4 separate regions of the Homo sapiens genome follow, and regions 2, 3 and 4 are each linked to region 1. The links are contacts of gene promoters, found by promoter capture Hi-C in blood cells and fetal thymus (Javierre and others, 2016). All regions are on one chromosome and are shown on one strand. Each heading gives the region's core, a stretch centred on a gene start or on the middle of the fragment in contact. The rest is flanking DNA. Distances are from core to core; before and after follow the strand shown.

What was found. The method cuts DNA at HindIII sites, captures the fragments that hold promoters and counts their contacts. A CHiCAGO score of 5 or more calls a contact.
Region 2: a contact is called between a fragment that was not itself captured here and the fragment with the promoter of RASGRF2 in region 1, in 1 of 17 cell types (endothelial precursors). The highest score is 8.8, in endothelial precursors.
Region 3: a fragment that was not itself captured here is called in contact with the fragment with the promoter of RASGRF2 in region 1 in 4 of 17 cell types (total CD8 T cells, naive CD4 T cells, naive CD8 T cells and 1 more); the score reaches 6.6 in total CD8 T cells.
Region 4: a fragment that was not itself captured here is called in contact with the fragment with the promoter of RASGRF2 in region 1 in 1 of 17 cell types (M2 macrophages); the score reaches 5.1 in M2 macrophages.

The regions. Positions count from the first base shown.
Region 1 is chr5:80,959,006-80,961,872 of GRCh38, forward strand. RASGRF2 (Ras protein specific guanine nucleotide releasing factor 2) reads left to right here and starts at 1,358. Exons shown (of 27, transcript NM_006909.3): 1 at 1,358-2,021. The coding sequence starts at 1,734. RASGRF2-AS1 (RASGRF2 antisense RNA 1) reads right to left here and starts at 1,902. Exons shown (of 4, transcript NR_105015.1): 1 at 1,776-1,902. RefSeq lists an enhancer at 1,461-2,182. The HindIII fragment of the contact is 16,452 bases long and covers 1-2,867 here.
Region 2 is chr5:81,166,345-81,169,374 of GRCh38, forward strand. The region is part of intron 17 of RASGRF2 (Ras protein specific guanine nucleotide releasing factor 2); the gene reads left to right. Among named protein-coding and RNA genes, the nearest start is that of CKMT2, 65 kb to the right of the region's middle. The HindIII fragment of the contact is 4,695 bases long and covers 1-3,030 here.
Region 3 is chr5:80,760,110-80,763,166 of GRCh38, forward strand. It overlaps MSH3 (mutS homolog 3), which reads left to right. Exons shown (of 24, transcript NM_002439.5): 13 at 1,437-1,569. Among named protein-coding and RNA genes, the nearest start is that of DHFR, 110 kb to the left of the region's middle. The HindIII fragment of the contact is 1,290 bases long and covers 713-2,002 here.
Region 4 is chr5:80,721,046-80,723,965 of GRCh38, forward strand. All of the region lies in intron 8 of MSH3 (mutS homolog 3), which reads left to right. Among named protein-coding and RNA genes, the nearest start is that of DHFR, 68 kb to the left of the region's middle. The HindIII fragment of the contact is 215 bases long and covers 1,179-1,393 here.

The DNA of each region.
Region 1 (2,867 bases), core at 108-2,607:
TATAGGCCCTCCCCGGGGGTTTCACTGGCTTTCTCTCACAGCTGCTGGCTACATTATTTCTTTTCCACTTACATTTTTACAGCATGGGGTTGGGGCGGGGGGGTGGCTCTTGGTTTTCTGGTTGTACCTGTCAGATTTGTTAATCAAATGAATCCAGTCCTACAAACGATGAGCCTGTGACAGCTGGCCTTTGGGGTTGGATTCTGCCCTGGGCAGCAAAGTGTCCCTTATTTGGGTATTTTTTTCCAGGTTGAAAACTCGGCACTTAAAATTTAGCATCTTACCACTGTGAAATAACAGGCATTCCGAAAGAACTTCGGCATCTGATGCCTTTCCGGGAACACTTGGGCCACTCTCCTTAACCTTTACCGGCAGTTTTAAATACTACAATGCAGGTACAAGCAGAAAAGCCAAGGATGCGGGCTATGCAAAGCCACTCTGTGACTCTACCTACTGCCATGGGAACGTACTTATGGATGTGGCATGTGAGTGTGTGTGTATGTGTGAGTGGGTTTGTGAAAGTGTGTGGATTCGTGCGAATACGTGTGTGAGTGCTTTGTGTGTATTTTTGGATGAATTTGTGAATGTACATGTGTGTTCATCTGTGTGTGTGTTTGATTATCTGCTTATGAGTCTGTATGATTGTGAACGTGTGAGTATATGTGTGCTGTTTGTGTGACTGTATGAGTGTAATGTGTGTATGAATGTATGTTTGAATGTGGGTTTGAGTGAATGTGTGGGTTGTGTGTGAATGTGTGTGTAAGTGAGCATATCACTGCGTGCATGTGTGTAGCTCCTTAAGTGTGTATCTGAATGTGGGTTTTATTTTTGTGCGCGGGAACGCACATTGTGGGTGTATTTGTCTATATGCATTTGTGCGTTGTGACTGTGTGTTGAGTGTGAGCGTTGTGAGAATGTGTATTTGTGTGTCATGAGTGTGTGCGCGTGTGTTTTTGTGCATATGTGCGCGCATTGTGTTTGTGTGCATTTGTGAGTGTATTTTTGTGCGTCTGAGTGTGTGCATTGTGGATCTGGGTGAATGTACTGGTCTGCGTGTGTGTGGGTGTGCGTGTGTGTGTGCGCGCGTTGTGCGCGAGTGTGCGAGCGCGTGTGAGCGGGTGTGTGGTGCGGCCGGGCGCCTCCACCTCCCTGATCCGCCCCATCCCGGCGGGCGCCCGAGCAGAGGCAGCGGCCCGGGCCGGGGCGGGCGAGGGAGGGACGCGAGCCGGGGCAAGCGGGCTGCGCCACCGCCGGCGCCGCGCCGACTTTGCCCTTTAAATCGGTCTCCAAGCCGATTACAGCTGAGCTCCCACGTGACGTTTTACCTTCTGTCTCCCGGAGCGCGTTGCCCGAGGACAGTCCTTCCCCGGCTGCCGCCCCAGCCCGCCGCGGGGGCTCGGCTCCCGCAACTTTGGGCGAAGCGGCGGCCGGCTCGGGCGCCCTCGCGGGGCCGCGCTCCACGCGGGCGTTGGGGGCTTGGGGGGCTCCGGGGGCTCGGCCGGGAGGGTGGTGGTTAGGGCGGAGAGCGTGCCTCGGCCCCAGCCCGCGCCCCTGCCACCGCGCGCCGCGGCCTCCCGAAAGCGGGCGGGGTGCCCTGCGCGCGGCGTGGGGAAAGGGGGCGCCCTTCGCCGGCCGGGACCTGAGCGGTCGCGCCCTCGAGGGAGCCAGCTGGGCCATGGCCGCGAGGCAGGGGTGAGACCGGCGGCCACCCGTGAGCCCTCCGCACCCGCACCATGCAGAAGAGCGTGCGCTACAACGAGGGGCACGCCCTGTACCTGGCCTTTCTGGCGCGCAAGGAGGGCACCAAGCGCGGCTTCCTGAGTAAGAAGACGGCCGAGGCGAGCCGCTGGCACGAGAAGTGGTTCGCCCTCTACCAGAATGTGCTCTTCTACTTCGAGGGCGAGCAGAGCTGCCGCCCGGCGGGCATGTACCTCCTGGAGGGCTGCAGCTGCGAACGAACGCCCGCGCCACCCAGGGCCGGCGCCGGGCAGGGAGGCGTCCGAGACGCGCTGGACAAGCAGGTACCGCGCGCCTTCTCTCCGCGGTCTCCCAGCCTTGATCGCCGCACTCCCTTGCCGTCCTAATCCGGGGATCAGGGGTCGGGGGTCGTGAAAGAGTGCGGGGACTATGCTCCGAAATCCCCCCGCGTCACCAGTGGCGGGACATCTCCACGCTCCTTCCGATCTTCATCCAGGGATTCTCCCATCTCCATACCCCTCCACCCCACTGCCAAGTGATCAGTCAGAATAGTGGCCCGACTTGCTTTCATTACCCTGGTAGAGGTCGAGTCGTTTCAGCTTCTCTGCCAACCATCTATTGCTTCTCTAGACCTGGCTCGCCAGATTTTTGTCTGGTGACATGTATTGACACCTGTTGGGTGTAGATTGGCAAGACGGAACTAACTTATTTGGAAAAGTTTGATTTCTGCCATACCCGGCTGGCGCGTGTAGATTTCTTTGCCTGCAGATGTTTGACCACTGGTTGGGCTGGGAACAAGCGGGGCTCCCAAGCCGGACAGACACTTTCTGTTGGTCATTTTCAATCAGTCTTTGTGATTTCGGTCAGTTGGCCTTGCTAACATTTGACCTGCTGGGTGTAATTATGAAGGTAAATGTGTATTCATATTCCTCAGGATTAATATTTGGTAGCCACATTCTTGCTATGTTTAAAAATGTGGGCATTTTTAAAGAACGCTTCTGTACTTTTAAATGAATGCTTTGAAAATGAATGCGACCTTTTAATTCTGGGTCATAATTTTATTAGTTTTGCTGTGTGCTCATGGTCGCGGGGTGGGGGAGAAAAACCCTTTAAGTCTTAGTGATCCCAGCCCCTCATTCCTGCAAACACAAAGTTTGTATGTTTCCAAT
Region 2 (3,030 bases), core at 490-2,989, 210 kb after region 1:
ACCTGGCTAATTTTTGTATTTTTAGTAGAGACAGGGTTTCACCATGTTGGTCAGGCTGGTCTCGAACTCCAGACCTCAGGAGATCCACCCACATCAGCCTCCCAAACTGCTGGGATTACAGGTGTGAGCCACAGCACCTGGCCGTGAACTTTACTTCTCCTGACAAAAGCCCTTGTCTGCTTACAGATACTCCAAGGATACCTAAGATAAGCAAGAAAGACACAGCCTCTATTGTCACATGTGAGGGAGTGGCGGTGTTGAGGAAAGGCCTCTGTGCACAGACGGGAGGGATTTATGGATACTGAAGGGGAAGGATGGGGGAGGGACGAAGGGCTGGTAATTGAGGTCAGCGAAAGGATGGTATCAGATGCATGGTGGGCAACCTGAGCTTCATCCAAGGAGACACTAAGGAAGGGACCTTAGAGGCATCCAGATAAGCTCCTTTTGTGACCAAAAAGGACACTGAGAACCCGAGATGAGGGGATTTTTCTAAGGCCGTTCATTGAGCTAAGCCGATTTAAAAATTCCCAGTCCCTTCTGAGATGTTCTTCCCAGCTCATCTTTAGCTTTCCCCAGGGGTAAAGGAAAAGAATGAGGACGAAACTGCAGAGAGCTTTTGAAAGAAGGGAAATTAGGGTGTCTCCTGATCCCCCTCATGAAATGACTTCAGTCTTTAAGTCATAGGTGGCAGGGTCTTCCCCGAGTGAAGAGACGGGATGATCCTGGCAGTATGGAGTTAAAGCATCACCACACTGAGCTGTTAGCACCATTGTGAGTTATGTTACATTGCCCTCCATGGGTAGAGTGACGGATACAAGGCTGTCAGCATAAAGGACCTGGCCTGTCCAAGTCTGGTCTTCCCAGCAGAAATTCCTACTTAACACAGTTAGAAGAACTCACTGTAATACATACACACAGCAACCAATTTATCCAAGGCCTGTTTTGTATCAGTCCTGAGGACTGGAGGCCAACCAAGACGTAGCTATTGTTTCTGCCCCATAGCAGCCTCGGATGAGGGGGCAGGGCAGAAAAGCATCACCAGTAGGGACACAAACAAGAGAAACTGCAAAACCGAGAGATTGTTAAAATTTGCAATCATCAATCAGTCAGTTGTTAAACTAATCCACTTGAATAGAATTCTACAGCAAGTTGGTTAGAATCCGTCTGAAATTCTTAACTGCAGGGGTTTCACTGCACACATCAGTGTGCACTCAGTGATAGTGGTGTTCTCCTCGCTGGGCTTTCTGTAAGTTCCAACGCAGGGCACAGAATTGAAAATGGAAGCCCCCATGAGCAGCTGCAGGCAGGGATGCCGTCACTCTGACCCCTCGGCCTCTCCTCTCTGTGGCTGCCTCCAGGGCACATGAGGAAAAGCAGATGCCTCCCCTGGCAAGTTCTGATGGAAAGATCAAAGGTGGGGAGTAGGAGCAACGAAGAGCATGACTGAACAATGACGGGGTCAGGCCGACTCGGCACTCAGACACAGCAGAGCCATTCTCTGGAGAGACTCTTAGGGTGGTGCTGCTGGGACTCACAGGAAGACTTCAGATCTTAAATGGATATTCTGCACTGCCAGACAATCCTAGTAAAGTCATGTTCCTACACTGCCTTTTACCCTTTACCGCCTTCCCCTCTTCTCAGATCTCCACATCCCCTTGCAGGCTTGGCTGATGATCTTGTCTCATATTTCACAGCAAAAGCAGATACAAATGGTCAAGGATGACCTCTTCCCTCCACTGATTTCGCCAGCACACTACACTTGGTCTCAGCCTCTGCCCTCTCCCCGAGGCTGTGGAGTAATCATCCCCACACTGCCCTTGGGTCAGCCCCTCCGCTTTGCCCCATCCCATCCCTTTTCACCTCCTTAAGAACTGTTCTCCTGCAGTTACCCTTTTCTCTATTGACATCAATTTCCCCCTTTATCAATCATTCCTATAGCATGCCAGCGTCTTTTTTTTTCTTCTCTTTTTTTTTTTTTTTTTTTAAGACAGAGTCTGGCTCTGTCGCCCAAGTTAGAGTGCAGTGGCGTAACCTTGGCTCACCACAACCTCCGCCTCCTGAATTCAAGCAATTCTTCTGTCTCAACCTCCCAAGTAGCTGGGGCTACAGGCGCACACCGCCACGCTCAGCTAATTTTTGTACTTTTAGTAGAGTTGGGGTTTCACCATATTGGTCAGGCTGGTCTCGAACTCCTGACCTCAGGTGATCCACCCACCTCAGCCTCCCAAAGTGCTCAGATTACAAGTGTGAGCCACTGCCCCCAGCACCGGTGTCTTAATATCACCCATTTTACCAGCTATGGCTCCCTTCCTCTGCTTCTTTTCAAAGCACAATGTGTTGAAAATATTGGCCATACTTAATGTCTCCACTTCATCACCTTCTTTTTCCCCTCAATTTGGACTTTTACTCCGTCACTCTTGGAATGACTGACCCAGGTCACTGACAACCGATAGCTTGCCAGAGTCAAATCCAATCCCCTTGTCTTACTCAACCTCTCAGTGGCATTTGACACAGCGATCACTTCTTCCTTGTTGAAATATTTCCTGTCCTCTTGGGTTCCATGAGACTAATGTGCCTGGGTTTCCAGGACTTGCTCTCCTCCTTCTTTTGGTCTGCTTTGCTGGCTCTTTGACCAATATCTCCTGGTTGTGGGGCCACGGGCTTTGTCTGGTACACTCTGTACCTATGTGAGCCCATCCAGACTTCTGATTTTTAAGTACTGTTTAAATGCTGATACTCTCAATTTGCATTTCCAGTGTGATCATTAGATGTCTAGAGGCATCTCACACTTAACTATGTCTAAAATCAAACTCTTGATTTCCTCCCTCAAACCTGCCCTTGCCCCATCTCAGGAAGTGGTATCATCATCTACCCAGCTGAACAGGTCCTGAACAGTGGAGCCATTCCTGATTCCTCTTTCCCTCAGACCTTAAATTCGTTTTTGTAGGGCTTCCATAACAAAGTACCTCAATCTGGGTGGCTAAAAAAACAACGATTTATTTTCTCACTGTTCTGGAGGCCAGAAGTCCA
Region 3 (3,057 bases), core at 108-2,607, 200 kb before region 1:
TATGATGTCAACAGAATTTTGAGAGACACCAAGTTTATTCAGTGGCTGATGCCTCCTTTCCCCCAAAACATCAGTTCATTCTTTCATCCACTTGTTTATTTATTCATTCATTCATTTACAAACACTTTAAATCCTTACTGAGGACTTACTACTCACCAGACATGTTTACTTATCTTAGTTTTTAATACTACAGATGGTCATTATACCTAGTGTGGGCCTTTGATGTTTATAGGTACTTCATGGACCACATCTCATTGATGATACATTTAGTCCATCAGATTTCCGTTTTAAGTTGAGTCATCACTTAAGGTGTAGCCGTTGGTAAAATCCCGCAGCACTGATCTCCTATGTATCTGAATGTCATATCCTCTGCACTTTCTATTGCTACTCCCCAATCTTTGGTCAGGGTCAATATGTTTAATTTAATTCATTCAAACAGTTGGTCAGTTCAGCCATCACCACCACCACTAGGTCGTCTTGTTGGTCATTGTTTAACTATTATATTAGCCAAGGTAATGCAAGCTATCAGCAAACAAATTCTCCGTCTAAGTGGCTTAAATACATTAGAAGTTTATTTCTTGCTAATATAAGTTCAATTGGTAACAGATCCGGGAATGGTGGATTTTCTGCTCCACTGTGGGCTCAGGCTGATGGAGTTACCATGAGGCTCACAAGCTTGCCTAGCTGGCAAAGGGGATTAGGAGAATGTGAAAGCTTATTCAGGAAGTTTTTATGGGCCAGGGCTAGAGGTGGCTTACATCATTCCCACCCATGCTTCAGAACTGAGGTACATGGCCATACCTAACTACAGGGGAGACTGGGAAATGTAGTCTTTGTGTTTGCTTGGTGAGCCTGTCTTTGTCAAACCCAGCTAGTGAATTTCCTTGTATGATACCTGCTCTTTGATTCAGATAATAATAAGAGGCATGGAAGGACCAGATATATTGTTGTAGGACTTTTTCCTTAGTTCAGTTAAAGACAGCGAGGTTGGGGGAGGGTGGTCCTCATCACACAGCCATGTAAAATTAGGCCCGCAGACAATTCGAAGGAGGAGAAAAATGGAATTTATTGGGCAAAGAGCAATAAAAAGGGAAACAAAGACTCTCCAACAAGACAGAACGAGAATCTTGCTAGTATGCTTCCCGCCTCACAGACTGTAATCCCAGGTTCCACCCAGGAGGAGGAGGGGCCAGGCTCCTCCCTGCTGCCAAAGGCGTGAACTTCTGTGTCTCCACCCCAGTGCACCCTCCTCTCAATGCATACGCCCATTGGAGTTTTGTCAGGGAGTCCTTCCCACATGACTATCTCAGTATGAAGGAGGAGTTTCCTTTGTGCCTAATAAGTGGCTGTGTCACATTCCTGGGCATTAGAGTGGGAAATGTCTATATTCTGAATTCCTAACATATCTGATTATTGCTATTACTCTTTTCTCACAGGGAAATAAATGCCCGGCTTGATGCTGTATCGGAAGTTCTCCATTCAGAATCTAGTGTGTTTGGTCAGATAGAAAATCATCTACGTAAATTGCCCGACATAGAGAGGGGACTCTGTAGCATTTATCACAAAAAAGTAAGTGTGATAGAAATCTATTAAAGCTGACAGTGTTCTTCAGCTTGAGGACACTATATATTAAAAGAAAACTTTTGAGAGCTCTATTATTATTTTATTTTGTAAAATCTTACAAATAGCATGCGAGAGTAGCTGAATCCTCAGAAATTTTAATAGTACAAATTAGAGTTATTCCAATTTTTCCATTGTAGAAAATAAAGTTTTCTCATGTGCCTTAACTACAGCAACATAGAGGCCCTTCTGTTATAATATAGGGTATTCTCCTGTTTCATCCTGAAAGTACAGACTATTATCAAAATAGGAAATTTATGTAGACTTGTTATTTTAGAAAAAAAAAACCTTATTTCTTTTGATCTTAGAACAACTTATTGTTTCTTAAACTATGGAAAAATCTGCTAGTATAACATCTGTGGTGGTAGTTAGTATGCAAACAAGCTTGGATATTGAAGGTGAGTAAAGGATTATTTTGATTTTTATCACTTAAGCTTTACAGTTTGAGTCATAGCAAAAATGAGTCATTTTCCACGGTTAGGGAAATAATTTAGGTTATCTTCAAAATATGCCTAAAATTAAAAAAATTATTAATATTTTTAAATGATAAAACACTATAAACTATGGTGTTTTACTTTTTGCAGAAGTCATTCACATACCTTATACTCTTTGTTCCTTATCAAAACTTTATGACATTGAGAAGTTACTATTTTTATTACCTTCTTACTAATAAGAAATTATATCTAATGCTATATATGTGTGTGTATATATATATGTATATATATAAAATGCTGCAACCACTTGAATTACCTTGGCTAATATGATGATGCTCAGAGGTTTAGTAACTTGCTAGTAACAGAATCTGTATTTAGACCCAGGATTCTTGACTGTGTTTTCATTGGCTGTGTCTTTTGGATGCTATCATGTTTGATGTAGTTATCTTGACTGCCATTTTTTTTTTCTGGTTGCCACTTTTCATAAGCAAATTTTATTTTTCCTCCAAATGTAACTCCTTGCCAATTTAATAATTTTACTGTGTAACCATTTTTATGTGCCTAAATTTTTATTTTATTTTGTTTTATTTTGTTTTATTTTATTTTATTTTAATTTTTTATTTTATTTTATGTTATGTTATGTTATGTTATGTTATGTTATGTTATGTTATTTTATGTTATTTTATTTTATTTTATTTTTGAGACAGACTTTTACTCTCGTCACCCAGGCTGGAGTGCAATGGCGTGATCTCGGCTCACTGCAACCTCTACCTCCCAGGTTTAATCGATTCTTCTGTCTCAGCCTCCTGAGTAGCTGGGGTTACAGGCACCCGCCACTATGCCTGGCTAATTTTTGTATTTTTAGCAGAGATGGGGTTTCACCACATTGGCCAGGCTGGTATCGAACTCCTGACCTCAGGTGATCCACCCGCCTCGGCCTCCCAAAGTGCTGGGATTACAGGCATGAGCCACTGCGCCCAGCCAATATGCCTAAATTTTAGTT
Region 4 (2,920 bases), core at 36-2,535, 240 kb before region 1:
AGGCAATTATTAATTTTCCACCAGTATATTTTACCTTTTACAGAATTTCAAATACAGGATATCTTACAATATATATTAAAATTTTTTGGCTTGATTTCTTTCACAAAATATGATTTTTTGAGGTTCATTTTGCTGCATATTGTCAAAGTATTTGAAAATGTGACAGCTCATTTTCTCCTGGCTCTGTTCTGTAGTACTTTTGTCTTTTTAACAATTACCCTGTTATCCTTTTCTCCCCATTTTAGATTCTGTTCATAGGAGTTTTTCCTCAGGGTAAGATTTGTCCTAAAAAAGTGCTTTGCATCACTGGTTTTGTGAATTCATAGGGCCTAGAGTTCTCAAGCCCCTTCAGGCTTTACTGTGGACTCCTTGTAGTCACTATTATCAAATATACAAACTGCACTCCCAATTTCAGCTCCTCAAAATGTCCTACTGTGCTTTCCAGTGAGTACCTCGTTGCTGTTTTGTGTTGTTTCTGTTTTCCGATTGTTAGAGTTCTGTTGCTTTTGTCTGCTTCTTCTCACATGGTTGCTGATAGCATTTGTATCTTATTGTTCATCCCACCTGCTTGCATTTTGGGGTTCTTAATATCTTGAGATGCAGTTATAGTGTAGTACATGTTATCTGTGGGTTTTAGTTTGGTTATTAAAGTCTCTTTTTATGGCAGGATTTAGGGAGACTGAAAAACTATGCTTGAATCTAACAAAAAACAACAATTATTTCAATAAAATATTATATCAAGGAAAATAGCAAAAAATTACAAATGTGTGTTACATTGATAAAATGATACATTTATTTCTACTTTTCATAATATTGAGGGAGGGAGTGTTCTGCTTTTGTGACGAGGTATAGCCATTTGTGTTTCTGTGTTTTCTGTATCTTTTACATATGTCTACCACATTACTGTCTGTTGTCTTAGATTGTAAACTAAGAAACAGTGATTGTTGTGTGGCATATGCCCATGAGAATTTGTTTAACTGTTTTTGTGAAGAAAAAAAATATATAAACTATAGATTTTCTGTCATAAATCCTTCTTTCTGAATTTTAACCTAATTGTAAAGCAAAATAGGTAATAAAGTTTCACTATTGTTTATTTATTACAAGGCATTGTAATTGAACTTTTAAATCAACTCATACGATCTCCTTGCTCAGGAAGGAAAATCATAAAAATAGAAAAAAGCTTGCTTTATTTTGGTGCTGGGGATGGTTTCAAGTCTTTTTTCAGTTTTATGTAGAGACCAAGAAAGTGTTCTGCATAGGGAGCCAAAGAAAAAAATATTGAGAAACTTTCTAAAGTATCTTAACTCAGTTGTTTATAGTATAGCTTTACTTTACAGATAACTTTTGATGTTCTTAGATCATTAGATATACCTACATCAATATACATAAGATAAGCTTCCAAAGGAAATACTCTTTGCTTTGGGAATACTCTTTCCTATCATCTACTAATTTTCATTATAGCAGCAGTCTTTTATTTGTATAGGTCAGTGGTTCTTTAACTTTAATGTGCAGTAGAGTCCCCTGATGCTGGGCCGGGCCCCACCCAACACCTGTTCCTGTTTCAGATAAAGACCAGAGAGAGGTATGTGTACGTATCTAAGAGTGAGCACAACCAAAGCTGTATAAAACCTTCATGGAGGAAATTACAGAACATTACTGTTGGATATAATAGACATGAATAGAAGAATATACCAGCTTTGATAATGTGATACCTCTATTTAAGATGTTATTTCTCTCTAAATTAATTCATTACATATCAAATTAAAATACCAATAAGGGCTGGGCGCAATGGCTCACGCCCATAATCCCAGCACTTTGGGAGGCCGAGGTGGGCAGATCGCTTGAGTCCAGGAGTTTGACACCAGCCTGGGCAACATGGCGAAACCCTGTATCTACTAAAAATACAAAAAAATTAGCTGGGCGTGGTAATGCCTATCTGTAGTCCTAGCTACTTGGGGCTGATGAAGGAGGATTGCTTCAGCCTGGGAGGTCGATGATGCTGCAATGAGCCCTGGTCCAGCCTAGGCGACGGAGTGAAACTCTGTCTAAAAATAAATAAATAAATAAATAAATAAATAAATAAATAAAGTAATCCCAGTAAGTTTCTTGTGAAGACCGAAGGTAAGTGAACCTAAAATTCACAAAGAAAATCAAAGGGCCAGGAGTAGCCAAGACAATCTTGAAGAGCAAGGTAGGGACCTTGCCACTTTAGATATAGATGCCAAGCCCTAGAAATTAAGAGACTGTGGTCGTGATACAGAGATAGACAAAAAGACCAGTGGAACAGCATGGAGAATCCAAAAACATATATAGAAATGCAATATGCAGTGAAAGTAACATTATAAATCATCAGGGACGTATGGAATGCTAATTGCTGCTTTGATCATTAATTATATGGAAAATGAAATTGTATTTATAACTTCACACTATCCACAAAGATAAATTCTGGTGAATAAATTCAGAAAGCAGATCTTAAATTTATTAGAAAATATAAGAAATAATAAAATACTTAGCTGCTGTTAAAATGTAAAAAGCACATGTATCTTCATGTATAAATCTTAGAAATAGTGTAACATTGAGGATAAAATCAATTTGTATGGTTATGATAAAGTACCACTCATACAAAATGAAAAGCATGAAATGATACAGTTTTTTATAAAACATGAAAACATGCATGGTAATATACATCACATTCAAGATAATGTTTGCTTCTTTTATTAATTTTTTTTTTTAATTTGAGACGATGTTTCACTCTTGCTCAGGCTGGAGTGCAGTGGTGTGATCACAGCTCATTGCAGCCTTGACTCCCTGGGCTCAAGTGATCCTCCCACCTCAGCCTTCCAAGTAGCTGGGACTACAGGCATGTGCTACCGTGCCTGGCTAATTTTTGTATTTTTTGTAGAGAGAGCCATGTTGCCCA